Regions from separate parts of the Homo sapiens genome. Here regions 1, 2, 3, 4, 5 and 6 are each linked to region 7. The links are contacts of gene promoters, found by promoter capture Hi-C in blood cells and fetal thymus (Javierre and others, 2016). All regions are on one chromosome and are shown on one strand. Each heading gives the region's core, a stretch centred on a gene start or on the middle of the fragment in contact. The rest is flanking DNA. Distances are from core to core; before and after follow the strand shown.

Region 1 (3,608 bases), core at 443-2,942, 370 kb before region 7:
GCCCAACCGATGCTAGGCGCCGTGGGGGAGATGAGAGAAGGAGGCGCTGGGGAAGAGATGACTAAGACACTGAAACAATCAGAGGCGAGGACAAGCAGCCGGGCCAGTGGCTGGTCAGGTGCTAATTGTGCTTGTTGGAGCAGAGGCCAGCACGGCTGGGACTGGAGGTCAGCAGCAGCTGGAGGAGGGAGGGAAGGCTTTGTGAGGGATGCGGGCCTAGGCTAGACCTTGAAGGGGGGAGAGGGGGAAGCAAGGGGGAGATTTGGCTCAGCAGAAAAGGAAGAAAAGACGCCTTTCTCTCTATTCCCTGGCCACGAACTGACCTTCGAAGCCTGGATGATTGTTTGGCAAATGTGTGTCACATAAAAGACCAGGTCAGCTAGTGTGGGTGGCTCAGTGCAAACCCCTGTCTCCACTCCGGGAGATATAAACTGGCTGGCCAGCCTGCCACCCAAGCTGAGGGGATTTCGTTTGAAACCCCTCCCTTACCAGACACACACACACACACACACACACACACACACACACACACACACACAGGCCCCTGGGGAGTGGGAGAGATGGCAGGGGAGACGTAGGGCACTTAAATGACAGGAAAACTGACATGCCACTTGTGCTCATGGCAGTCTCAGGCTGGCTGGATCCCACCTTTTCCCCAGGGTTCTGGGATTTCTCTGGAAGCCCAGAGCTTCAGGTGGAGGAAAGAGATTTTCATAATTGTTCCCCACTCCACCATCTGGGAAATGAAGAATGTAGAGTTTCATGTGTTTCTGCCCAGACCGCTAAGGACTAGCCATATATTGCTTCCACTGATTCTGTGTCTCCCAAGGCTGGACATGGAGGAAGCTTGGCCCTGGTTGGGTTTAATTGGATAAAAAACTCCCGGACATCCCCCTGCCACATACACACACTCATCATTTTCCCTCTCTCACTGCCCTGCCTCCTCCCCAGCACATTTCAACACCAAAGGGACATACCAGAGGGCCCTGACTTCTTGGTTGGGAAATCATGCCCTAAGGTGAGTTTCTCGGCAAAGAGACCCCAGCCTGCTTCCAGGGTGAGGAGGAGGGTCAGGGAGCAGGGAAGGGTGTTTCATGCAGGAAGGTCTGCAAGGGAAAGTGCCAGAACATTTCTCAGAGAGGCTAACAAGAAGCAAGCTGAGCAGCTTGTAGAGGCTGAGCAAGCTTTCCCTTGAGTTGCCACCTTCTTTTCTTTTTTTAATTTGAGGCAGAGTCTTGCTCTGTCGCCCAGGCTGGAGTGCAGTGGTGTGATCTTGGCTCACTGCAACCTCCATCTCCCGGGTTCAAGCAATTCTCCTGCCTCAGCCTCCTAAGTAGCTGGGATTACAAGCACCTACCACCATGCCCAGCTAATTTTCTTTTTTTTTTGTATTTTTTAGTAAAGACGGGGTTTCACCATGTTGGCCAGCCTGGTCTCGAACCCCTGACCTCAGGTGATCCACCTGTCTTGGCCTCCCAAAGTGCTGGGATTACAGGCATGAGCCACCGCACCCAGCCGAGTTGCCACCTTCTTGATGGGTCATTTTCTTGGCCCAGTGTGGGCACTTCCTGCCTCTCAGAACACCTGACTCTCCTGAAGCTTCCTTTCCTCTTCCAGTGTGACCCAATATCCTTCCCAATACATGTTATTGTCTAGAGGAGGAAGAGCACAGGCTCTCTACATTTATATGCCAAACTTACTGGCTGTGTGACTATTTGCTGTTGAGCTAGTTACTTAACCACTCTGGGAGTCAGCGCCCATCTCACAGGGTTGGAGTGAAGCTTAAATGAGACGATGCATATAAAGCACTCAGCAGAGTGCCTGGCATATAGTACCCACCCAGTAAGTGTTCACTGCTGTTATTATTATTCCTGTGACAGTTATTATTATTGTTGTCACCATTTCCCCTTCACACACCCTTGACTTTGCCAGGCTCTAGGGACCAACTACTTCTTCGGCAATGCGGGCAGGGCATGCCACACCCATTTCTGAAACTAAGCGGGAGATTTTCCAGGTTTTTCTGCTTTTTGTTAACTCGGCCATTGCACAGGATAGGGAAAGGATGTAATAGAAGGTGTGTGTGTGTGTGTGTGTGTGTGTGTGTGTGTGTGTGTGTAATATACTGAATGGCAGGCAGTGCTGTAGTGAAGAGCAAAACTCAAATCGTTAATATTTGTACTAACATTGCCTTCTTTAGTCCTTCACCATTTTCATCTTGAGCATCATTCACTGCAGAAATAAGAGTAAGTTAGTTTCTTTGAGAGGCCTAACGTTGTACTCCTGGGAACTATTTAGCAATCATCAGATTGTTGTTATTATCCTACTGAGTGTAAAATTCTGGGAGCCAACTGGCTGACTACCACTCACTCTCACCCTTCACTAGAATAGATGATGGGTCCATTCTGGGCCAATGCCCAGAGGCCTTGAGTTGAGGCTGGGGCACTGCCTTTGCCCAGAAGAGCTCCCAGGGGACTGGGGGCCAGTGCCCTTCCAGAGGCCTCCCAGAGAGTAACTTGGAGGTTCCATTTGCTATTGACTGGATTGTGTTTGCTTGAGGAGCCTGTGACCACCCGCAGGGACAGGCAGCCTAGGATAAACTGGACCACCCCTGAGTAAAGCACTCCACTCAGTCCCTTGGTCCCCACCCCTCAGTTAGAACTGCTAGGCTTTGGGGGATGGGAGGGTGGCAATTATTCTTAACCTCCCGAAATTCCTGATGACCCGATAACAAGGAGGTATTTAGACATAGAATGAGGAGCTAATCTTTTTCCTATAATGCCCCCTGAGGATAACAGAGGCTAGTTCAGCTCTGCTAATTCTATGAGAATCTATGCACAGAAAACACCTGTCTCATTAGATGACCACTTCTAATTAGCCATTCTAATAAGTGTGCAGTGGTATCTCATTGTGATTTTAATTTGTATTTTCCTGATGATGTTTGTATTGACTGATGATGTTGAACATCTTTTCATATAGTTGCTGTCCATATGTCTTCTTTGTTGAGGTGTCTGTTCAAATCTTTTGCCCATTTTTAAACTGAATTGTTTGTTTTCTTGTAGTTGAGTTGTGAGAGTTCTTTATATTTTTTGGATACAAGACTTTCATCAGATACATGCTTTGTAAATACTTTCTCGTAGTCTGTGGCTTCTTTTAATCCCCTTCTCAGTGTCTTTTGACTTTAGCAAACATTTTAAATTTTGATGAAAGTGCAACTTTTCAACTTTTCTTTTTATGGGTCATAGTTTTGGTGCTGTATCGAAGAACTCTTCCCCTAGCCTTAGTTCACAAATATTTTGTCTCATATTTTCTTTTATAGGTTTTATAATATTAGTCTTTACATTTTAGTCTATGGTCTGCTTTGAGTTAATTTTTCTGTATGTTGAGTGGTATGGATCCAAATTCTTTTCCTTCCTTCCTTCCTTCCTTCCTTCCTCCCTCCCTTCCTTCCTTCCTCCCTCCCTCCTTCTCTCTCTTTCTTTCTTTCTTTCTTTCTTTCTTTCTTTCTTTCTCTCTCTCTCTCTCTCTCTCTCTCTCTCTCTCATCTTTATCTTGCTTTCTTGCTTTCTTCTTTCTTTCTTTTTCTTGGTCTTGCTCTGTTGCCCAGGCTG
Region 2 (3,704 bases), core at 1,179-3,678, 300 kb before region 7:
CACGCCTGTAATCCCAGCACTTTGGGAGGCCGAGGCGAGCGGATCACGAGGCCAGGAGATCGAGACCATCCTGGCTAACACGGTGAAACCCTGTCTCTACTAAAAATACAAAAAAAATTAGCCGGGCATGGTGGCGGGCGACTGTAGTCCCAGCTACTCCGGAGGCTGAGGCAGGAGAATGGCGTGAACCAGGGAGGCAGAGCTTGCAGTGAGCCGAGATCCTGCCACTGCATTCCAGCCTCCGTCTCAAAAAAAAAAAAAAAAAAAAATATATATATATATATATATATATATATATATATATATAACAAATTAGCTGGGCATGGTGGCGGGCGCCTGTAGTCCCAGCTAGTGGGGAGGCTGAGACAAAAGAATCACTTGAACCTGGGAGGCGGAGGTTGCGGTGAGCCAAGATTGCGCCATTGCACTCCAGCCTGGCGACAGAGCGAGACTCCGTCTCAAAAATAAATAAATAAATCAGAAGTCCATGTAAATGTATCTAGGTGTAGGGGCTGAGGAGGCAGAGCAGTGGAGGGAAAAGCTTCCCCAGCCTCCAGTCTCCACACTCGGGTGCTTCCTGCAGCCACCCTACCAACCTACCCAGTGGTTCCTGGAGATTTGGCAGGGAGGCACACAGGCATGAAAAATGAGAGCCAAACACTCAGTTCAAGGCATCCAAACAGCCCCTGAGGTTGGCTGCACAACATTAGGAATGTACTAAATGGGCCAGGAGCGGTAGCTCATGCCTGTAATCCCAGCACTTTGGGAGGCCAAGGGAGGCGGATCACTTGAGGTCAGGAGTTGGAGACCAGCCTGGCCAACATGGTGAAACCTACCTCTATTAAAAATATAAAATTAGCCAGGCACAGTGGTGCACACCTATAGTCATAGCTACTCGGGAAGCTGAGGCAGGAGAATCACTTGAACCTGGGAGGCAGAGGTTGCAGTGAGCTGAGATCATGCAACTGCATTCCAGCCTGGGTAACAGTGAGATTTGTCTCAGGAAAAAAAAAAAAAAAAAGAGAATGTACTAAATCCCACTGAATTGTTCACTTTATTTTTTTTAATTAATTAATTTTTTGAGACGGAGTCTCGCTCTGTCGCCCAGGCTGGAGTGCAGTGGTGTGATCTCAGCTCACTGCAAACTCCACCTCCTGGGTTCAAGCAATTCTCCTGCCTCAGCCTCCCGAGTAGCTGGGATTACAGGCATGCACCACCACGGTCCAGCTAACTTTTGTATTTTTAGTAGAGAGGGGGTTTCACCATGTTGGTCAGGCTGGTCTCCAGTTCCTGACCTCAAGTGATCCACCCACCTTGGCCTCCCAAAGTGCTGGGATTACAGGGGTGAGCCACCACGCCTGGCCCGAATTGTTCACTTTAAAATGATTATGTTAGGTAAATTTTACCTCAATTTTTAAAAAAGTCCCTGAGTGCTGTCCTCTCACACACCCTACAAACAGCCTTTGGGCCTAAGGGCCCCCTGCTTCTTGAGAGCCTGCTGACTCCTGCCAGTGCCTGCCTTCCTGTGGTGGTAGGCCAAGGTCCCAGGCTGCCTTTGCATGGAAAAGAGCTGGTGCACTTTATAGCAACCCATTGGCTCCTGACTCCCATTATTAAGCCTGATTCATGCCCATAAATTGAGCAAAAGGTCTAAATGAAGACTGGGCATGGTGGCTCACACTTGTAATTCCAGCACTTTGGGAGGCCAAGGCGGGAAGATAGCTTGAGCCCAGGAGTTCCAGACCAGCCTGGGCAACATAGCAAACCCCGTATCTCAACAAAAAGATAAAATACAAAATTAGCTGGGACCGGTGGCACACACCCGTGGTCCTAGCTACTTGGGAGGCTGAGGCAGGAGGATTGCTTGAGCCCAGGAGTTTGAAACTGCACTGAGCTATGATTGTACCACTGCACTCCAGCCTCGGTGACAGAGCAAGACACTGTCTCTAGTAATTTTTAACAAATCTAAATAAAGGTGCTCAGCCAGGACAAGTTAGGAAGTGCTGGAGTCTCTAGCCTGGGCAACACAGCAAGACTCTGTCTCAAATATATATAAACACATATACGTACATACACACACACACCACAAATATGTGAAGTACTAGAGTTAAGAAAAGTCTTCTCTGGGGCCGGGCGCGGTGGCTCACGCCTGTAATTCCAGCACTTTGGGAGGCCGAGGCGGGCGGATCACGAGGTCAGGAGATCGAGACCATCCTGGCTAACATGGTGAAACCCCGTCTCTATTAAAAATACACAAAAATTAGCCGAGCTTGGTGGCGGGTGCCTGTAGTCCCAGCTCCTTGGGAGGCTGAGGCAGGAGAATGGTGTGAACCCGAGAGGTGGAGGTTGCAGTGAGCTGAGATCACGCCACTGCACTCGAGCCTTGGCGACAGAGCAAGACTCCGCCTAAAAAAAATAAAAGTCTTCTCTGAATTCTGCAACATAGACTGGCATTCAATTTAGTTTCAGGAGGTGTCAAAAAGCTGGCTAGCAGAAGTTCGAGACCAGCCTGGCCAACATGGCAAAACCCTGTCTCTACTAAAAATTCAAAAATTAGCCGGGCATAGTGGCGAATGCCTGTAATCCCAGCTACTCAGGAGGCTGAGGAATGAGAATCGCTTGAACCCGGGAGGCAGAGGTTGCAGTGAGCCAAGATCGCGCCAAAAACAAAACAAAACCAAAAGATAGCTAGTAGTTGGGATGAGGAGACAGAAAGATAAGAGAAACGTGTTTATTTCTCTCCTCTCTGTCTCTTTTTTTTTTTTTTTTTTTTTTGAGACACTGTCTCACTCTGTTGCCCAGGCTGGAGTGCAGTCACCATACCTGGCTAATTTTTAAATTTTTTTGTAGAGACAAGGTCTCCGTATGTTGCCCAGGCTGGTCTCAAACTCCTGGCCGGAAGCAATTCTCCTACCTGAGCCTCCCAAAGTGCTGGGATCACAGGCATAAGCCACTGCGCCTGGCCTATTTCCCATTTTTTAACTACTTAAAATGGTTTCCACATTCCTACTCCTTAGGGGTTTTGGAGAAGGGATTGGGGAAGCAAAGAGTTCATCTGTTTACTAAGGTGGTCACAGTGTTATTTAGATCTAGGAGCCCCTGAGACCCTCGGGATGGCAGTTTCTAGCCTAAGGAGGCCTCGGGACTAGACCGGTTTCTCAAAGACAGAGCTGCGTGTGGTGCCTTTGTCATATCAAGATGCTCTGGATGCTTGTTGGTCTCAGATTTTCCTGGGAATCCAGTGGAGTGCAGATAACACGTGTATGTGTCTAAGAGAGAGTGCATGTGTACACAGTACGTGGGAGGCAGCTACCAACGGTGGCTTGCCCCAAGCCCTGCACCCCTAGGGATGGTTCAGCTAAGGGGAACAACAGTCACCACTGGCCCAGGACAAATGACTGAATGAACATTCCAAGGCTGCTCTGCGCCTCAAGGACAGGGGCTTGGGAACCCAGAGCTGGAGGGAGGGAAAACAGAAAAGGCAGCCATCCTGCCCCCAGCCTGGGAGATGCTAGTCAGGCTGTACAGGCCTAAGGCCTGTGCTCCAAGGTTTAGTCAGCTCAGCTGAGACCTGGGTGGAGGCTGGCTGAGCAGGAGTCAAGATCTCCCGCGACAGCCTCCTATTACCCCCCACTCACCGCCTACCTAGTCCTCCCCTTCCATAAGAGCCTTTAGTTAGGTCCCCTTTGTTTCTTCCTCCATCA
Region 3 (3,237 bases), core at 590-3,089, 440 kb before region 7:
ACATGGTCTCGCTCAGTCACCCAGGTTGGAGTGCAGTGGCATGATCTCGGCTCATTGCAGCCTCAACTTCCCCAGGCTCAGGTGATCCTCCCACCTTGGCCTCCCGAGTAGCTGGGACTACAGGCATGCACCACCACACCCGGCTAATTTTTGTATTTTTTGTAGAGATGGGGTTTCCCCATGTTGCCCAGGCTGGTCTCAAATTCCTAGGCTCAAGTGATCTGCCCACCTGGGCCTCCCAAAGTGCTGGGACTCTAGGTGTGAGCCACCACGCCTGGTCTCTTTCTCTCTCTCTCTCTCTCTCTTTTCCAGACAAGATCTCATTGTGTCACCCAGGCTGGAGTGCAGCAGTGCAATCATGGCTCACTGCAGCCTCAACCTCCTAGGCGCAAGCAATCCTCCCTCTTCAGCCTTCGGAGTAACTGGGACTACAGGCACGCACCAGCACACCCAACTAATTTTCATATTTTTTTTATTTCATAGAGATGGGGTCCTCCTTATGTTGCCCAGGCTGGTCTGGATCTCCTGGGCTCAAGCAATCATCCTGCCTCGGCCTCCCAAAGTGCTGGCAAGCCACCTTACCTAGCAGTGATCTCATTTTGTTTGAGAGTTAGGTGTTCCTTTCTCAGCATCTTCATAAACCCCTGGCCCCTGCCAAGCAGTGAAAGCATCTCCTTCCTCTTTCGCAGCTGCCTCTCCTCTCACCCTTTCCTCCTTTCCTGTGGGCACCATATCCATACAGTGGATGGGGGTGAAGACTGCCTCTTAGCCACAGCCACATACATGTACCCCAGATCCTTGTTTCTGTCAGATGGCCAATGGGGTATAGTGGAGTCAAATCAACTTGGGTGCAGATCTCGGCCCAAGTCATGTTAGTACATGACTTGTTAGGTGTCCTTAGATAAGTTAGGTGTCCTTAGGTAAGTTACTTTCTCTGACTTCAGTGTCCTCATCTGGAAAGTGATGATAACAATAGTAATCAGGTAGGGATGCTATGAGGATTAGTAGTCCTTGTAAGTATGTGACCCAGTGCCTAATATACACTCTCCCTTCTTTCATGGCCTGAAACCTCCACCATTAAGTCTAGATGGGCAACAACTTGAGCAAGCACTGTTGGAAAGGCAGCAAGCATCCCAGCTCTTCTGCTCAGAAGCTGAGTAAATGCCAGACAAGTCTTTTAACCTCCCTGAACTGAGCCTTGTTTTTCTCATCTCTGCAATGGGACCTTGATCCTCCTATGGTTGCTGGGATGATCCAGTGAAATAACACATGAGAAAGGACTTTTGGAAAATGTCAAGCACTCTGCAAATATTAGTTGTTGCTCTGGTCTCAGAAAGGCCATCAAGCCCTCTCCTGTTGGTATGGTTCCTTGGGTCCATTGGTCTCTCATCCTGGAAATCACAGAAAGCTTGGCTTCTCGAAGGTGAGACAGAGCTAAAGGCCATCCAGTGGGGAGGGGGTGGAGAGAGGAATACTGGCAACATGCCATGGGTGGCCGGGGGCAGGCCCGAACTGATGGGGTGCTGGAGGAGGATGGAGGGGCACAGCATGGGGAACTGCCAAAGAGATATCTAACCTTTTGAACTATTTTCTGGGCGAGCTTCAGCAAGCCCCCAACCCCCTGCATGTGCTCTTAGCTGACAGGGGGATTTCTTTTCCCTAGGAAACATTAACTGGCATCTTTCTATAGATGAGGCATGAATGTGCTTTTGTTGGAGGCCGATGGGGGAGGGTAGAAGTGCAAAAAAAGGAGACAAATACATCTGTAACCTCTGGAGCATGCCCCAGTGGATGATGGGAAAAGTTTAAAAGAAACCTGTTTTCAACTAGCTGGACTGTCCCATCTGCATCTAAGATCCACACACAAAGCTGACACAGAGAATGGCAAAGGAGGACAGAGACAAAGAGAAACTCACACACAGAAAGAAGCAGCAAGGGAGACAGAGAAACTTACACTGATGGATAATTAACCATTAAGTTAACTGGCAGAAGATAGAAGCTCAGAAGCCCTAAGGAAGAAATGATGTCATTCTGACTGCAGGCAGCTTCCAAGGAACACTTAGCTCAGCCTCCATCCACTTGATAATGTAACACAGGAAGGTATTTTTTTTCCCCCAGTGATCAGTAGAGGAACAGAAACTCACAGTCCTGAGCTGTACCTGCCCATAGCCACAGCTGACCTGCAGTTTGTCTTGTCCCCAGGGCTGGGGCACAGGGAGTGCCCAGCCTGTGGGAGGAACCAAACTATTATAGACAGAAGTGAAGCTTCCATGCAAATATACAAAGAATGATTCAAAAATTAGTTTCTTAGCCTCCCCTCTACTACATACCCTCCCTCTCTACACACACACACACACCCCTATTCGGCATTTTCCAATGCATTTAGGAGACAGACTCAATAAATTTAGCTACATCTGTAGGTGACAGACACATCATAGTCATTAAGGGAAGCTCCACTCTTCCTTTGGGGGCTGGGGGATGCCTCCACCCTTCCTAGGCTGATGTCAGGAAAGACTGTCAGCTATCTCTTATGATGTCCCTCTGGATTCTTGTCATAGGTGGCCTTGTGGGTTGGATGGACCATGGAGCTAGGCTGGAGAGAGGATTTTGTGCCAGGCAGCATGATGTGTGGAAAGAGCACCAGAAAGGGAATTAGGAGACATGAGTTCTAGGCCTGGCCCTGTGTGATCTTGGGCAAGTCACTTTCCCTCTCTGAGTCTCAGTTTCCTATCTGCAAGAGGAGGACACTGGATCACAGAATCTGTAACATCTCTTTTATCTCTGAACATTTTCTGCATCTCACACCTGAGTTGAGATAATCAAGGTGCAAAAAGTAAACCCAGGGCTCCCGCCTGTAATCCCAGCACTTTGGGAGGTCGAGGCAGGTGGATCACCTGAGGTCAGGAGTTCGAGACCAGCCTGGCTAACATGGTGAAACCCCATCTCTACTAAAAATATAAAAATTAGCTGGGCATCATGGCAGGTGCCTATAATCCCAGCTACTCAGGAGGCTGAGGCAGGAGAACTGCTTGAACCCAGGAGGCCGAGGTTGCAGTGAGCTGAGATCGTGCCATTGCACTCCAGCTTGGGCAACAAGAGTGAAACTCCCTCTCAAAAAAAAAAAAAAAAAAAAAGTAAACCCAGTTGAGTTCTGTGTGTCCTGGATACAAATTGAAGGAGACATCTGAAAGGCTCCTGGGGGCCTTGGGCTATAACCCTAAGTCCCTGGCCTAGAAG
Region 4 (3,297 bases), core at 310-2,809, 260 kb before region 7:
CCCACTGTAGAAAAACTACTTTTGCCTCCATTTGCAATTTATTTCCTTTACTCCATATAAATTTGTGCTTTTTGACTTTTTGTTTGAACCAGCTATAACATCTGTCTGGTTCTCTTGTTGATTAATGAGTAAAATAAAATCTTTAACACGTGTTCATTTTTGTATCTGTACGAGAGTCATGATTTTTTACCTTTTTTCTGACAATTATCTTTTAACATTATGAAGACAGTTATGTGGGTTAGCATAATTTTAGAAATATTTTTAACAAGGACCCCGTTCCCTGAACATCCTGGTTAATCAAGTTTTGACTGTTTCTCAGAATATCTTGGAATATCCCCATTTTAACCAACAACACTGGTTGGGCACAGTGGCTCACACCTGTAATCCCAGAACTTTGGGAGGTTGAGCTGGGAGGATTGCTTGAGTCCAGGAGTTCAAGACCAGCCTGGGCAACATGGCGAAACCCCATCTCTACAAAAAATTAGCCGGGCATGGTGGCGGGTGCCTGTATTCCCAGCTACTTGGGAGGCTGAGGTGGGAGGATCACCTGAGCCTAGGAGGTCAAGGCTGCAGTGAGCTGAGATTGTGCCACTGCATTCCAGCCTGGGCGACAGCAAAATCCTGTCTAAAACAAAAACAAAAACAAAACCAGCTCAGCCTATTGGCTGATACCCCAGGTACTCATTTCATCTTTTCTCTCTACTAAGCATTAGAGGACTCGGCCAGGCATGGTGGCTCACACCTGTAATCCCAGCACTTTGGGAGGCCGAGACGGGTGGATCACCTGAGGTCAGGAGTTCGAGACCAGCCTGGCCAACATGGTGAAACCCCATCTCTACTAAAAATACAAAAAATAGCCGAGCGTGGTGGCAGGCACCTGTAATCTCAGCTACTCGGAGGCTGATGCAGGAAAATTGCTTGAACCCGGGAGGCAGAGGTTGCAGTGAGCCAAGATCGCACCACTGCACTCCAGCCTAGGCGACAGTTAAGACTCTGTCTGGGGGGGGGGAAAAAGAATTAGAGGACTCAAGCAATGGAAGGGGCTGTTCTTGCCATAAAATGCATTTCAGGCCCAGAGCAGTGGCCTGTAATCCCACTGTAATCACGCCTGTAATCCCAGCACCTTGGGAGGCCAAGGCAGGTGGATCACTTGAGCTCAGGAGTTCAAGATCAGCCTGGGCAACATGGCAAAGCCCCATGTCTACAAAATACAAAAAAATAGCCGTGTGTGGCTGTGCAAACCTGTGGTCCCTGCTACTTGGGAAGCTGAGGTGGGAGAACTGCTTGAGCCCGGGAGGCAGAGGTTGCAGTGAGCCGAGATGGCGCCACTGCACTCCAGCCTGGGCAACAGAGGGAGACCCTATCTCAAAAAAAAAAAAAAAAAAAAAAAAAAAAAGATGTGTTTCAACACAAAGTACAAGTTTTAGTTGCTACTAAATATCTATAGGCAGCAGGTATTAGTGACACTAGATTTTTCACTCTCAGGTTTCGTATTGCTCTATTTAGAGAGGATTAGGATTAGTAGTATGTAGGGTCTGGGACAGAAATCAGAGGGGGAACACTGGCATTTGGAAACAGAACATCATACAACATCACCTAGATAAAGAGCTTTCAGGCAAAAAAAAAAAAAAAACCACAAAAAATAAAACCGAGTTAAAATATCAAAATAATTACTATATAATACACATGTTATGACCACGTAGAGAGCAACGCTGATTCTGGATAACTCCATTTTCACAAGATCCTCAAGATGGAGCATCCACTTAAATCTTTGCCTCTCAATTTTCTATCATGATTTTGTCCCAGGAGCGCCACTTCCTATCTGAAGCCCACTGTTGCTAATTAACAGTAGCCTCTGCAGATGAGAGGAGAGGAGGGGAGGGATAAAACACAGGCAGGAGAACACTGACACTGAGCTACATGGTCTATACAAGAAGGCAAGATTGGTCTTCCCCAGCCAGAGGGAAAGCAAAGGGAACCTCTAAAGCGGCCCTAGAGAACAGACTCCTGACTGCGTGAATGCTCACAGAAGGGAGGAGTCAGGACGGTCAATGTCAACCAATGTTTCCCCAGCCAGAATCACCGAGGAGCTTGTTCAAAATACAGATTCCTAGGTCTCAGTCCTGGAGATTCTGATTCAGTAGGCCTAGGGGTTTGTTTTATTATATTATAGCCAATCAAATTAGTATCCCAGGAGAGGTGAGCAAAAAGGAAAAGCCTTGCAGGCATGCCACACTTCGTAAGCGCTGCTGGTTTACACACTTGTATGCTGGCTTGCTTTTGCTTGAAGCACCGGTACTCATGTGTTCTCCCTTCCCACCTCCCCCCACCACCCCGCCTACTCTCCCTCTCTCTGATGGAAATCATCACATCAAAAGCAAAGTTCCAAAAAGGAACTTGGAAGAAACCTGGTAATCCCAAATGACCCAGGAAGCACAGGCACAAGGATATGAAATACCTCAAAGGATTTTCCCAGATGTCACAACCATGTAATTGTTAAAGAAATGAACAGCTGCATGGCCCAAGAATCAACCCTGGTCACTGCCTGGAAGGCAGAGGAACCACTGTGAGCTATCCCTACTTTGGGGGAAAAAACTCAAAAGATATATCCAACTCATGGTGAGGACAAAGGAGAGCACGTGCTCTGCCAATCCAAAGCCATAAGTGTGGCTGGGAAAAAAAAATACATATATATATATATATATATGTAAAACTTCAATTTAGGAGGCACATGCACAGAGAAGTAAAAGGCCTACCCAAGATCCCAGGAAATGAATCCAACAGGTGGGCAGCCAAGAGTAGGTAGCCAGAGACAATCACCACACTACAGAACAGGGGAAACCAAAAAGAAAAGGAACTAATGAGAGAGCAATAACTTTTTTTTTTTTTTTTTTTTTTTGGTGAGTCGGAGTCTCGCTCTGTCACCAAGGCTGGAGTGCAATGGCGCGATGTTGGCTCACTGCAACCTCCGCCTCCTGGGTTCAAGCGATTCTCCTGTCTCAGCCTCCTGAGTAGCTGGGATTACAGGCATGGGCCACCATGCCCGGCTAATTTTTGTATTTTTAGTAGAGACGGGGTTTCACCATGTTGGCCAGGCTCGTCTCGAACTCCTGACCTTCCGATCCGCCCACCTTGGCTTCCAAAAGTACTGGGATTACAGGAGTGAGCCACCGTGCCTGGCCGCAATAACTTTAAAATGGTGAAAAATAGCAGCTAAGCTGAGGGCGAGCGGGTAGTGGAAGAGAAACCATAATGAAGCAGAGATCTTTAAAACAATCCAAATAGAACACACTAGAA
Region 5 (3,551 bases), core at 1,052-3,551, 400 kb before region 7:
AAGAGATGATGAGAGCCCAAATTAGAATAGTAGTGGTATGATGATGATGAAGAAGAAGAAGAAAGTAAGAGGTAAAATTTGTATAGTACCTATTCTAATCTTGTAAGCACAGTTCTTAAATGCTTTATGTGCACCATCTCATTTTATCCTCCCAATAATCTTATGAGGTAGGTATTATTTCCCTCTTACAGAGAAATAAGTTGAAATTTTTAAAAATAAATAAATTTTAAATAATTTGCCTAAACTCACATAGCTAGTAAGTGGTAGAGAGAGAATTTGAGCCCGGGTCTGTCTGAGCCACAGAATTGGAACCCAGCTATTCTGATTCCAGAGCCTAAGCTATTAATAACATCAGTGTACAGTGTACAGTACTTTTTTTTTTTGAGACAGATTCTCACTCTGTCGCCCAGGCTGGAGTACGGTGGCATGATCTCAGCTCGCTGCAACCTCTGCCTCCCAGGTTCAAGCGATTCTCCTGCCTCAGCCTCCCAAGTAGCTGCATGCGCCACCATGCCTGGCTATTTTTTTTTTTTGTCTTTTTAGTAGAGATGGGGTTTTACCATGTAGGCCAGGTTGGTCTCGAACTCCTGACCTCAGGTGATCCACCCACCTCGGCTTCCCAAAGTGCTGAGATTACAGGCATGAGCCATCGTGTCCAGCCAGTATTACTTCTTGATAGAAAGGTGATGAGAAGTAGGGAACACACTTGAGGCATGCTTAGGAGTCATGCTTGATGAGGCTTGGTGGTTGGTTAAAGGTAGAAGATGAAGGAGATGGAGGAGGCAAAGATGATTTTCTAATTTCTAGCCTGCATGTCTGAGTGGATGGCAGTGTACCCACAGCTGAGAAAGACATTACAAGAGGAAGAGCTAGTTTAAGGGGGAAGATAAAATTCAGTTTTGGACCATTAAGTATGAAGTGGAATATCTGCGTGAAGGTGTCTTCTGGGCAGTTGGACATATGACTGCCACGCCCAGGGGACTTGGGCTCAGATAGAGAGCTGAGAATCATCTGCATATGTGTAGAAGTTGAAACCATGAGAGTAGGTGAAGCCTCCCAGGGAGAACTGATCTGGTGAGAAGAGGAGGAAGGCAAGGATAGAGCCCTGGGGAACCCCAATTTTTAGGAAGCAGGCTTAAGAAGAACCCACAAAGGAGACTAGGAAAGAACTTAAAGAGCAGTATGAGGAAACCTGAGGACAGGAGCCAAGGTTGTAGGGAGTTTCAAGAAAAAGAATGTGATCCACAGTGTTACCGTGGCAGAGGAATCTGGGAAGAAAAGAACCGTAAAATGCACTGTGAGATTTGGCGGTTCAGATACCTTTGGGAGGCTGAGGCAGGTGGATCACTTGAGGTCTGGAGTTAGAGACCAGCCTGGCCAACATGGTGAAAACACATCTCTACTAAAAATACAAAAATTAGCCAGGTGTGGTGGCGCACACCTGTAATCCCAGCTACTCAGGAGGCTGAAGCACGAGAATCGCTTGAACCCAGGAGGCGGAGGTTGCAGTGAGCCAAGATTGCATCAGTGCACTCCAGCCTGGGTGACAGAACAAGACTCCATTTCAAAAAATTAATAAAATAAAACAGATACCATTGGGAAGTTAGAAAAGAGGGTAAAGCACTCTTTCAAAAGATTTAAATGAGAAAAGAGAGATGGCAATCGGATAAAAGCGTGAAGAGGACATAGAATCAAAGGTGGGACCTATTGGATGGGACAAGCATGTTAATAGGCTGGACGGGGGTGGTGGGGAGCCCTCATGCCTCATGGGAAGCTATGGAAGATCACATCTAATGGCTTCATTTGTTTTTGCAATACAATAGAACATAAGATGGTTATCTGAGAGCGAACACCGTGAGGGTTGAGTAGCGGGATTGGATTGAAGAGGGAGCTTACCAAGGACAAATCAAAGGAGGCTAAAGAAGCTGCTTATCCATCAGATCTCAGTTCATGTCATTGCCTCTAGAAAGCTTTACCCAACCCAACCTGACTAGATTGCACATGTCATATGTTCCCAGCGCTACCTGCACTGTTCTTACCACTTACATCACATTTGTCACTCTTGATTATTGTTAGTGCTTGTTAAATTGTCTTGGCCACTAAACTCTGAAAGCAGCAAGGATCACTGTCTCAACTTGATACATAGTAGGTGCTTAATTGAATGGTCTCAGCTAGTAAAGAGTGGTGCAAAGACTGGGGCCCTATTCTCTCTGACTCCAAAGCTCAAGCTCTTAACCATAAGAAGGAGTAGGGTGCAAGGGAATTAAAGGTACTGGCAAAAGAACAGTTTGGGTGTTCTACCATTGGCCCAAATTAGTTAGAATGGAGCAGCTAGTCAAATAAACAGAGAAAATTGAAAGCAAGCATAGGAGACAGACTGAGCGAAAGCTGAAGGGATGGAAAATTGTGACCAACAAGTAGAATAATTGAGGTAGGAGGAGAGGTTTAGGAGATAACAAGATGAGGAAAAGTATGAGCCAGGTTCCAAGGTCTTCAGTGAATCAGGAGGAGTAGCCAGGAGGTGGCTCAAAACAGTGATTCGTAGGAATATAGGACTCCTCTGATGTCCCTCAGAAGAGAATGAAAGTACAAGAATCTGGAAGCAGCAGACCAGTAACCTCAAGAAGCTTGCAGAATGCCAACACCTCCTCCTGGCCTTGTGATGTGGAGTGTGGGGGAACGAACAGCCTCTATGTGTAAGCTCTCCTTAAGAGAGAGCCAAGTTTCCGTGAAGGCTACAAGTTGGAGAAAGCATTCTGTAAAAATGTTGTAGATGTAGGAGACTTATTAATAAAGTAATAATAAGTAATTCCAAACAGCCATATAAGAAAGGCTGTTCCGATTCTCCTTTTCCACACATGGGTCAGGGCTTTGGGACTGTCATGACTTGCTCTAATGTTGCCTGCCTTCTCATTGCCAATTTCCAACATATGACTGCCTAAAAAAACTGGGTACCAGAAACTGTGGTTCCCATGATTACTTGGATATGGTTTCTTAAGGATCGCTTTAGGTCAAGAACTCATTCTTCTTATTGGGCTGACAACTTTTTTTGTTTTTGTTTTTGTTTGTTTTTGTTGTTGTGGTTTTGGGGTTTTTTTGTTTTGTTTTGTTTTTGAGACAGAATCTTGCTCTGTTGCCCAGGCTGGAGTGCAGTGGCATGATCTCGGCTCACTGCAACCTCTGCCTCCCAGGTTCAAGCGATTCTCCTGCCTCAGCCTCCCCAGTAGCTGGGACCACAGGCATATGCCGCCACACCTGGCCAATTTTTGTATTTTTAGTAGAGACGGGGTTTCGCCATGTTGGCCAGGCTGGTCTCAAACTCGTGGCCTCAGTGATCTGCCTGCCTCAGCCTCCCAAAGTGTTGGGATTACAGGCATGAGTCACTGTGCCTGTCCTGGGCTGACAACTTCTTATTGACCTGGAGTTTTGGGGTGGTGATGGAAATGTTCTGAAATCAGATAGTGGTGATGGTGGCACAACCTTGTGAATATACTGAAATCCACAGAATTCCACACTTTAAAATGGTGAATTTGATGTGAATTATATCTCAA
Region 6 (3,494 bases), core at 949-3,448, 280 kb before region 7:
ATAAAGTCACGGAAACTGCTCTTTGCTTTCTTTTCCAAGGAACCTGGAGTGATGTGTGGTTTGGGGACAGAAGGCAGAAATGTTACAATCAAAGCTTAAAGACCAGAAAGCCCACCTGTGAGGCTCGGGGGAAAGATTGAGAAAGAGTTTGTGTTTACCCTGTGGTTAATCTGGGTTACATTTATTCACTCCCCTTACGTGGCCATCACATATGTGTCTCTTGTAGACAATGAGTGTTTCCAGGTGGTTTTTAAAAACTGAGAGTTTGGTCGCTTTTGCTGATACCAGAAAAGGCAGTGCACAGTATCAATGTGATGGTGTGCCAGAAAGTAGGAAAGTAGGAGGCCCCACTGCCCATAGGACTCTGAGGCTGCTGCACCTCAACAAAGTTCTGCTGGGCATGGTGGCTCACGCCTGTAATCCCAGCACTTTGGGAGGCCGAGGTGGGTGGATCACCTGAGGTCAGGAGATCGAGCCCAGCATGGCCAACATGGTGAAACCCCGACTCTACTAAAAATACAAAAATTCGCCGGGCGTGGTGGCACTCACCTGTAGTCCCAGATACTTGGGAGGCTGAGGAAGGAGAATCACTTGAACCTGGGATGCAGAGTTTGCAGTGAGCCAAGATTGTGCCACTGCACTCCAGCCTGGGTGACAGAGTGAGACTCCATCTCAAAAAAAAAAAAAAAAAAAAAAAAAAAAAGAAAGAAAGAAAGAAAATAAACAAAGTTCTAACTGAGCTGGAGCAGGTCCCAGAGGAGGGCAACCTCAGTGAATCTTGGAGGATTGAGTGAGGTGGGAAGATAGGAACAAGGAGCCAGTGAACAGAGAAAAAACGGCTAAGAACAGATGAGGCCGGACGCAGTGGCTGACGCCTGTAATCCCAACACTTTGGGAGGCTGAGGCAGGGAGATGGCTTGAGCCCAGGAGTTCAAGACCAGCCTGGGAAACATGGTGAAACCCCATCTCTTCAAAACTACAAACATTAGCCAGGTGTAATGGCACATGCCTGTGGTCCCAGCTACTCGGGAGGCTGAGGTAGGAGGATCACTTGAGCTCAGGAGGTTGAGGCTGCAGTGAACCGATATTGTGCCACTGAACTCCCTCTAGCCTGGGAAGCAAAGTGAGACTCTGTCTCAAAAAAAAAAAGAACAGACCAGAAGAGGCAGGTCATAGTCACGTCAGGTGGGCAAGACCATGAACCTGGACTCCTATGCTCAGGAATGCTGGGGATTCTCTCCCTGATAAGGGTGCCCAGAAACTATTAGTGGCAAAACGGACAGGTTAGGGACACATACCAGCCCCGTCATCCCAGATATCCTGTGTGTCCCTAAATGATAATAAACGTTTAAGATTTCTCTAAACTCTCCTAGCTAACTAGCTATTTATTTTTGTCCTTTCAGAATAGCAGTTTTCCAGTATACCCAAAGAAGACAGCGTAATGAACCCCCATTCCGTGGTTTTTGTCTAAATTCTCCTTAAACTTGTTTCTTTGAGCCTAGACCCATCGCGGGGAAATGGGTCGGCTACTGTGTTGTGGGCCTGGTGTTTGTGTCGGAAAACCACTTCCTTCAGCCTTATTCTAGCACCCAGGAGGAGCAGAAGGGGCCCCCGATCCTTGCTCGCTCACCTTAGACTTCAGAGGGGTCAATCATATCTTCTTTCCACAGTGAAGAAGTCTCACTTTTCCAGAGTGAAGGAGTCAGCGCCTGAGCCCCTCTGCCCTCACCACTGTGCCCTGGGGATCCCTCTGCAGCCCAGCCCAGAGGGCCAGGGCCGCGGGGCCTACCTTCCTCGTGGCTGTCGGCTCGTTTTCCTGGAGACTGGGACTCCGGCTTTGTCGGCTTCCGGTGCTTGTGCTTTCCCCTGACTCCATTGTGCTCTTTTCCTGAATCTGAAGCCCCCCTGGGGCTTTTCTTGGTGGATTCCTGGGGGTCACTGGGCAGCTTCCGGCACTGTGGAGAGGTAGAGGGTCAGGTCTGAGGTCAGTTTTGCTTCTTAAGAAAGCTCTCCAGGGGTTGAGCCATGTGTCCCGTTTCTGACCTAGAGGCATGAGCTGCCCAGAGTGGGGGACCAGGGGCAAGGGGCCGTGCACTGCCTTCCAGAGTGGGTGACAGGGGCTCTTTTGGACTGAGTCCAGGGCCCCAGCTAATCCCCATAGGCGTCCACATCCCATCACTTTAAAGAGGTCTACAGAGTCTGCGTTCAAAAGCCAGTGAATAAACACCCAAAGTCATTTTAAAAGGTGCAAAGTCAGGCCCCATACTCTCTGTACCCAAACACCAATGGAGAGACCGGCATTAAACAAAATGCCTCTTCTGCAAGTTGGGAGACTACATTGTTCAAATAACTTCACTGTGAATGGTATTGCACCAACAACTGAAAATAATTCTCAGTACAGGCCAACTCAAGAAAAATTGTCTCTTTTCACGTGTAAATTAATACCAGAAAATAGATTCAACTAAGGCAAGAAGAAAAACATGACACAGGAGCAATTCAAATATCCTCATATTTATAAAACCCAGTGAAAAGGCCCAAGCATTATTCATAATGCCACTTTATACTCTGTAGCACTTTCAGCCTTTCCAAATGCTCTCATCTCTATTATTGGATTTTATCCTCCCCACAACCCTGGGAGGAGAAGCTAATATTATCCCCACTGAACAGATAAGAAAACGGAGGCTCCAAGACAAAGGGTTGAATGACTTGTCCAGGGTAACACACAATCCCATGTGTCCACTGGCTCAGGGACTGCCACTTACCAGGCCAACCCGCAAGTTAGCACATTTGTGCTTGCAGTGAGAAAGACCCAGAATTGGGACTAGGACCCGGGGGTCCTGGCCCCCAGCCCGGGCCTCTGGGCATCAGCTCTCGCTACCTATCTTCCCTGAATCACTTCCTCGGCTGCTTCAGCTCAGCTTCTCCCACGCCCACTGCCTGGCACATCTAAGAGGCACAATGGCTGTGCTCACACACTGCAAGGACACTCTCAGCCTAACAGTCACGTATTCTCACGAGCTTTGAGGTCTCTCTGTGCCACTAAACAAGAAATAGGGCAATGTAGGGATTTCCAGTATTCTAGTATGCAGGGAGTGCAGAATAAGCAAAACGTTGGAACAATAAAAGCAGGTCCGAGGAGGAAAGGAAGGGTTAAACTTGCTTGAGCTGTTTTTCCCCTAAGCTGACCCATGCCTCGCCTGCTAGAAGGTTATCGTGGTGTACCTCCAGCTAAGGGGATGGCACATACCTTACTGATGGAACATTTTCGGGGGCTGGGGCCTCCTAATTCTCCAGGGACAGGGAGTCACCACTACCCATCAAATTCCAGGACTCCTCCTATCCCATGAACTCTTCCTGCTTCTTATTTTCAGCAGAGGCCTGAGCTAAAAATTCAAGTTCAGTTTCCCCCTTGGCTTGCTGCCAGTTCCTACAAACCAAAGTGTTAGGAGGAGGAAAGCATTGGTTGGAAAGAGGAAGATGAGGAACTACTGCTT
Region 7 (3,303 bases), core at 765-3,264:
TGAGTGTGGGGAGACATTACACTCCCCCGCCCCCCCTCCTTTTTTTTTTTTTTGAGACAGAGTCTCTCTGTCACCCAGGCTGGAGTGCAGTGGGGCGATCTCAGCTCACTGCAACCTCCGCCTCCCGGGTTCAAGCGATTCTCCTGCCTCAGCCTCCCAAGTAGCTGGGACTACAGGCATGCACCCACCACACCCAGCTAATTTTTGTATTTTTAGTAGAGATGGGGGTTTCACTATATTGGCCAGGCTGGTCTCGAACTCCTGACCTCAGGTGATCCACCCGCCCCGGCCTCCCAAAGTGTTGGGATCACAGGCGTGAGCCACTGCGCCCAACGCCCCCCGCGCCCGCATTTTTTTTTTTTTTGAGATGGAGTCTCCTTCTTTTGCCCAGGCTGGAGTGCAGTGGCACAATCTTGGCTCACTGCAATCTCTGCCTCCTGAGTTCAAGCGATTCTCCTGCCTCAGCCCCCCCTGAGGAACTGGGATTACAAGCGTGCGCCACCATGCCTGGCTAATTTTTGTAATTTTAATAGAGACAGTGTTTCACCATGTTGGCCAGGCTGGTCTCGAACTCCTGACCTCAAGTGATCCGCCTGCCATGGCCTCCCAAAGAGCTGGGATTACAGGCATGAGCCACCACGCCCAGCCACACTTTCGAGTGGGCTGAGCTACAGATGCAAGGAGGGTGGCTGGGGTTCAACACCATGAACGTCCTGTGTGATTTTATCTTGGTCTCATAAACTCAAGGATCAGATGCGACCCATACTGTTCATTTAAGAAAACAAACACCCATTTCTGTAGAAACAGATCCCTGGCAAAATGTTGGCACTGATATGCTAACATAAGAATGAGGACACAGCCAACTTATGTCTCTCTGGACACCAGAATATGCTGTTCTCTGAGGCCAGGGCTGTGGCTCCCAAGAGCAGGCTCTGCAGCTGAATGACTCTGTGGTCCCTGGCACAAGGCCTGGCACTGGGTAGGTGCTCAGGAACTGGACATTGAGTGACTGATCAGGCCCTGCTGACAGACAACAAAGAAAGGAAGGCTAGGGTGGGAGCGCTGGGCTGGGCACCTAGTTGAGGACAGAGAGGGTGCCGCAGGAATGACAAAGAGGAAAGACTCTCTTCCTGACCAAAGTTTAGTTAGGCTCCCCCAAAGCCTCTTCTCCACTTGGCCTTGACCTTGGCCTTCTGTGTCTGTCCTGCCCTTGCCAGGCTTGCATCACCCAGTCTTAGCAAGAATCTTGCTAAGTCAGTTTAGACACCCTTGATATCTGATCACTCTGGCCTGCCGTCAGCAAGAATGCTGTTCAGTCGGTTTAGCAAGAATCCCCCTACCCTTGCTATCTCCTCTTAATACTTTTCCATCCACTGACCCCCTCACTCTGCTCCTTGGCTACAGATCCCTGGAAGTCTTTTCTGTAATCAGAGTTGAGCCCCATTTCTCTCCTCTATTGCAATGCGGTAGTCTTAAATTAAGTTTTCCTTACCGTTTTAACGAGTGTCAGAATATTTTTTTTCTATAACGGGGGGAATGGAAAGGTGCCAAACCAGACTCGATCCAAGTTATGAGGGCCCCCAACACTGGCCCTGAGGTGTCTCTTCCTCAAGTCAGAGAGAGGAAGCAACAGAAAAAGAGACTCGGGCCCCAACCCTCACTCCAACCCTTTCTGAGCTCAGAGGGGAGAGGTCAGAGCTGCCTTCCAGTGGAAGCTAGGATGCACATACCACAGAGGAGGACCAGCCAGGGGCAGCAGCCCCAGTGAGCCCGGGCCATAGGGTCTCCAGATGCCGGCGCTGGGTGGATGGAGGGACAAGGGAGAGAGGGAGGGCTCTTTCCCCGGCCTCTTCCTTCAGGCCTTTCCTGGGCTCGAGCAGACAGAGGGTGGGGGCTGGCGTCAAGAAGGAGGCGTCTGGCTGCTGGGTGGAGAGTGCTTCTCTGGTCTTTTGTTTTGGAGGGCTCTGGGAGCCAGGGTGGGCAGAGGAGCTTTGGGCTGCCCGAGGCGGACTGTGCAAGTTCCTAGTCGTGTAGGATAGGGTGTGAGGCTATCCTGGGCAGAGTCCAAAGATCTCAGAGACAGAGGCACAACAGCTGGTCTCAATCAGCCTGCTTTTCCCAGCCCCCTCTCAGCGGCAGAGCCCCAGCCATTCCTTAATTCGGTCCCCTTCCCTCCAGCAAGCTGATTCCCATTAGCTCCCACACTCTGGGCTCTGGCTCCAGCACTGCTTTTGCTGTGGGGATGGAGATTTGCCTCCTGCTGCTGCTCCTTTTCCTCCCCACCTCTTCTTCCTCCTCGTTTTCCTTCTCCTCCTCCTTTTTCCTCCTTCCCCTCCTTTTCTGGGCTCCTCCACTTCCTCTTCTTCTTCCTCCTTTTCCCTCCTCATCCTCCTCCTTTTTTTTTTTTTCCTCCTTGTCCATTTCCTCCTCCTCCTCCTTTTTGCTCTTCCTCCCCCTCCTTTTTTCCTCCCTCTCTTCCTCCAAGCTGACTGGAAAAGCCAGTGTCCTCTCTTCTTGTAGTGCTTGGCAAGTCCCACTGTACCCCTTGGGAAAGTTGGTTGTGACTGGAGAGTTACTTTCTTGAGCTGGGATGAGTCCCCCCAGGAGTGCCCACTCTGAAGAAGTGATGCCAGCTCTTCCCTTGGGATCTGGGGAGTCCCATTCCCCTGCATTTTCTGAACCTGCACTCTGGGGAACCGAGGCTGTTAGAGCCACTCACACCTGGGAGGAAATGAAAGCCCAAAGATGCCCCTATCTGGAGGGTTTGGGGGATGCCACTGAATAGGGAAGAAGACACAGAAAGGGGAGTTTGGGCGCTCTGAGAAGACTAATTTGGTGAACTGGAAATGCTGTTTCTGCTGTAGCTTCTAGAACAGGGATTTGGTTACCCTGAAGTGTGAGTCACTCGTAAACAACACAACTCCCAATGAGGGAAATGGAGAAGCTGAGGCCTGCCTTGTCTTCACGCCCAGCTGAATCAGAGGGCAGCTTCAAGGCAGCTCCTAGTAAATGCTCTACAGAACCCTTGCTCTTTGGGTTCGAGGAAGGTGATTTCCCAGAGAGGAATGCTTTAGAGAGACAAACAGACCCAATGGGGATGGATGCTCACCTAGCCTGGAGGGCCCCAGAGGCAAACTGCCCATTCCTTTTGTTTCTATTTTTATTTTTGAAACAGGGTCTTATTCTGTTGCCCAGGGTGGAGTGCAGTGGCATGTTCTCGGTTCACTGCAACCTCAGCCTCCCGGGCTCAAGTGATTCTCCAGCCTCAGCCTTCTGAGTAGCTGAGACCACAGGTGCGTGTCA

Evidence for each region. The method cuts DNA at HindIII sites, captures the fragments that hold promoters and counts their contacts. A CHiCAGO score of 5 or more calls a contact.
Region 1: a contact is called between a fragment that was not itself captured here and the fragment with the promoter of XPNPEP2 in region 7, in 8 of 17 cell types (non-activated CD4 T cells, activated CD4 T cells, total B cells and 5 more). The highest score is 13.6, in non-activated CD4 T cells.
Region 2: a fragment that was not itself captured here is called in contact with the fragment with the promoter of XPNPEP2 in region 7 in 9 of 17 cell types (activated CD4 T cells, total B cells, neutrophils and 6 more); the score reaches 12.8 in activated CD4 T cells.
Region 3: a contact is called between a fragment that was not itself captured here and the fragment with the promoter of XPNPEP2 in region 7, in 4 of 17 cell types (neutrophils, non-activated CD4 T cells, activated CD4 T cells and 1 more). The highest score is 8.2, in neutrophils.
Region 4: a contact is called between a fragment that was not itself captured here and the fragment with the promoter of XPNPEP2 in region 7, in 3 of 17 cell types (activated CD4 T cells, total B cells and M0 macrophages). The highest score is 6.2, in activated CD4 T cells.
Region 5: a fragment that was not itself captured here is called in contact with the fragment with the promoter of XPNPEP2 in region 7 in 4 of 17 cell types (activated CD4 T cells, total B cells, non-activated CD4 T cells and 1 more); the score reaches 7.7 in activated CD4 T cells.
Region 6: a contact is called between a fragment that was not itself captured here and the fragment with the promoter of XPNPEP2 in region 7, in 4 of 17 cell types (M0 macrophages, neutrophils, activated CD4 T cells and 1 more). The highest score is 8.6, in M0 macrophages.

Annotation. Positions count from the first base shown.
Region 1 is chrX:130,102,786-130,106,393 of GRCh38, reverse strand. The region is part of intron 1 of ELF4 (E74 like ETS transcription factor 4); the gene reads left to right. Among named protein-coding and RNA genes, the nearest start is that of ELF4, 5.9 kb to the left of the region's middle. RefSeq lists a silencer at 2,506-2,800. The HindIII fragment of the contact is 182 bases long and covers 1,602-1,783 here.
Region 2 is chrX:130,040,350-130,044,053 of GRCh38, reverse strand. The region is part of intron 11 of BCORL1 (BCL6 corepressor like 1); the gene reads right to left. Among named protein-coding and RNA genes, the nearest start is that of BCORL1, 60 kb to the right of the region's middle. The HindIII fragment of the contact is 3,769 bases long and covers 544-3,704 here.
Region 3 is chrX:130,175,390-130,178,626 of GRCh38, reverse strand. All of the region lies in intron 1 of RAB33A (RAB33A, member RAS oncogene family), which reads right to left. Among named protein-coding and RNA genes, the nearest start is that of RAB33A, 5.0 kb to the right of the region's middle. RefSeq lists an enhancer at 1,976-2,045. The HindIII fragment of the contact is 857 bases long and covers 1,411-2,267 here.
Region 4 is chrX:129,997,397-130,000,693 of GRCh38, reverse strand. The region is part of intron 1 of BCORL1 (BCL6 corepressor like 1); the gene reads right to left. Among named protein-coding and RNA genes, the nearest start is that of BCORL1, 16 kb to the right of the region's middle. The HindIII fragment of the contact is 5,421 bases long and covers 1-3,297 here.
Region 5 is chrX:130,140,679-130,144,229 of GRCh38, reverse strand. The region is part of intron 6 of AIFM1 (apoptosis inducing factor mitochondria associated 1); the gene reads left to right. It also overlaps a transcript of RAB33A not described here. Among named protein-coding and RNA genes, the nearest start is that of AIFM1, 23 kb to the left of the region's middle. The HindIII fragment of the contact is 657 bases long and covers 1,973-2,629 here.
Region 6 is chrX:130,019,446-130,022,939 of GRCh38, reverse strand. It overlaps BCORL1 (BCL6 corepressor like 1), which reads right to left. Exons shown (of 14, transcript NM_001379451.1): 5 at 1,790-1,955; 6 at 1-43. It overlaps LOC124905216 (a long non-coding RNA gene), which reads left to right. Exons shown (of 2, transcript XR_007068333.1): 2 at 1-42. Among named protein-coding and RNA genes, the nearest start is that of BCORL1, 39 kb to the right of the region's middle. The HindIII fragment of the contact is 4,204 bases long and covers 97-3,494 here.
Region 7 is chrX:129,737,690-129,740,992 of GRCh38, reverse strand. It overlaps XPNPEP2 (X-prolyl aminopeptidase 2), which reads right to left and starts at 2,014. Exons shown (of 21, transcript NM_003399.6): 1 at 1,731-2,014. The coding sequence starts at 1,779. RefSeq lists an enhancer at 2,735-2,784. The HindIII fragment of the contact is 11,300 bases long and covers 1-3,303 here.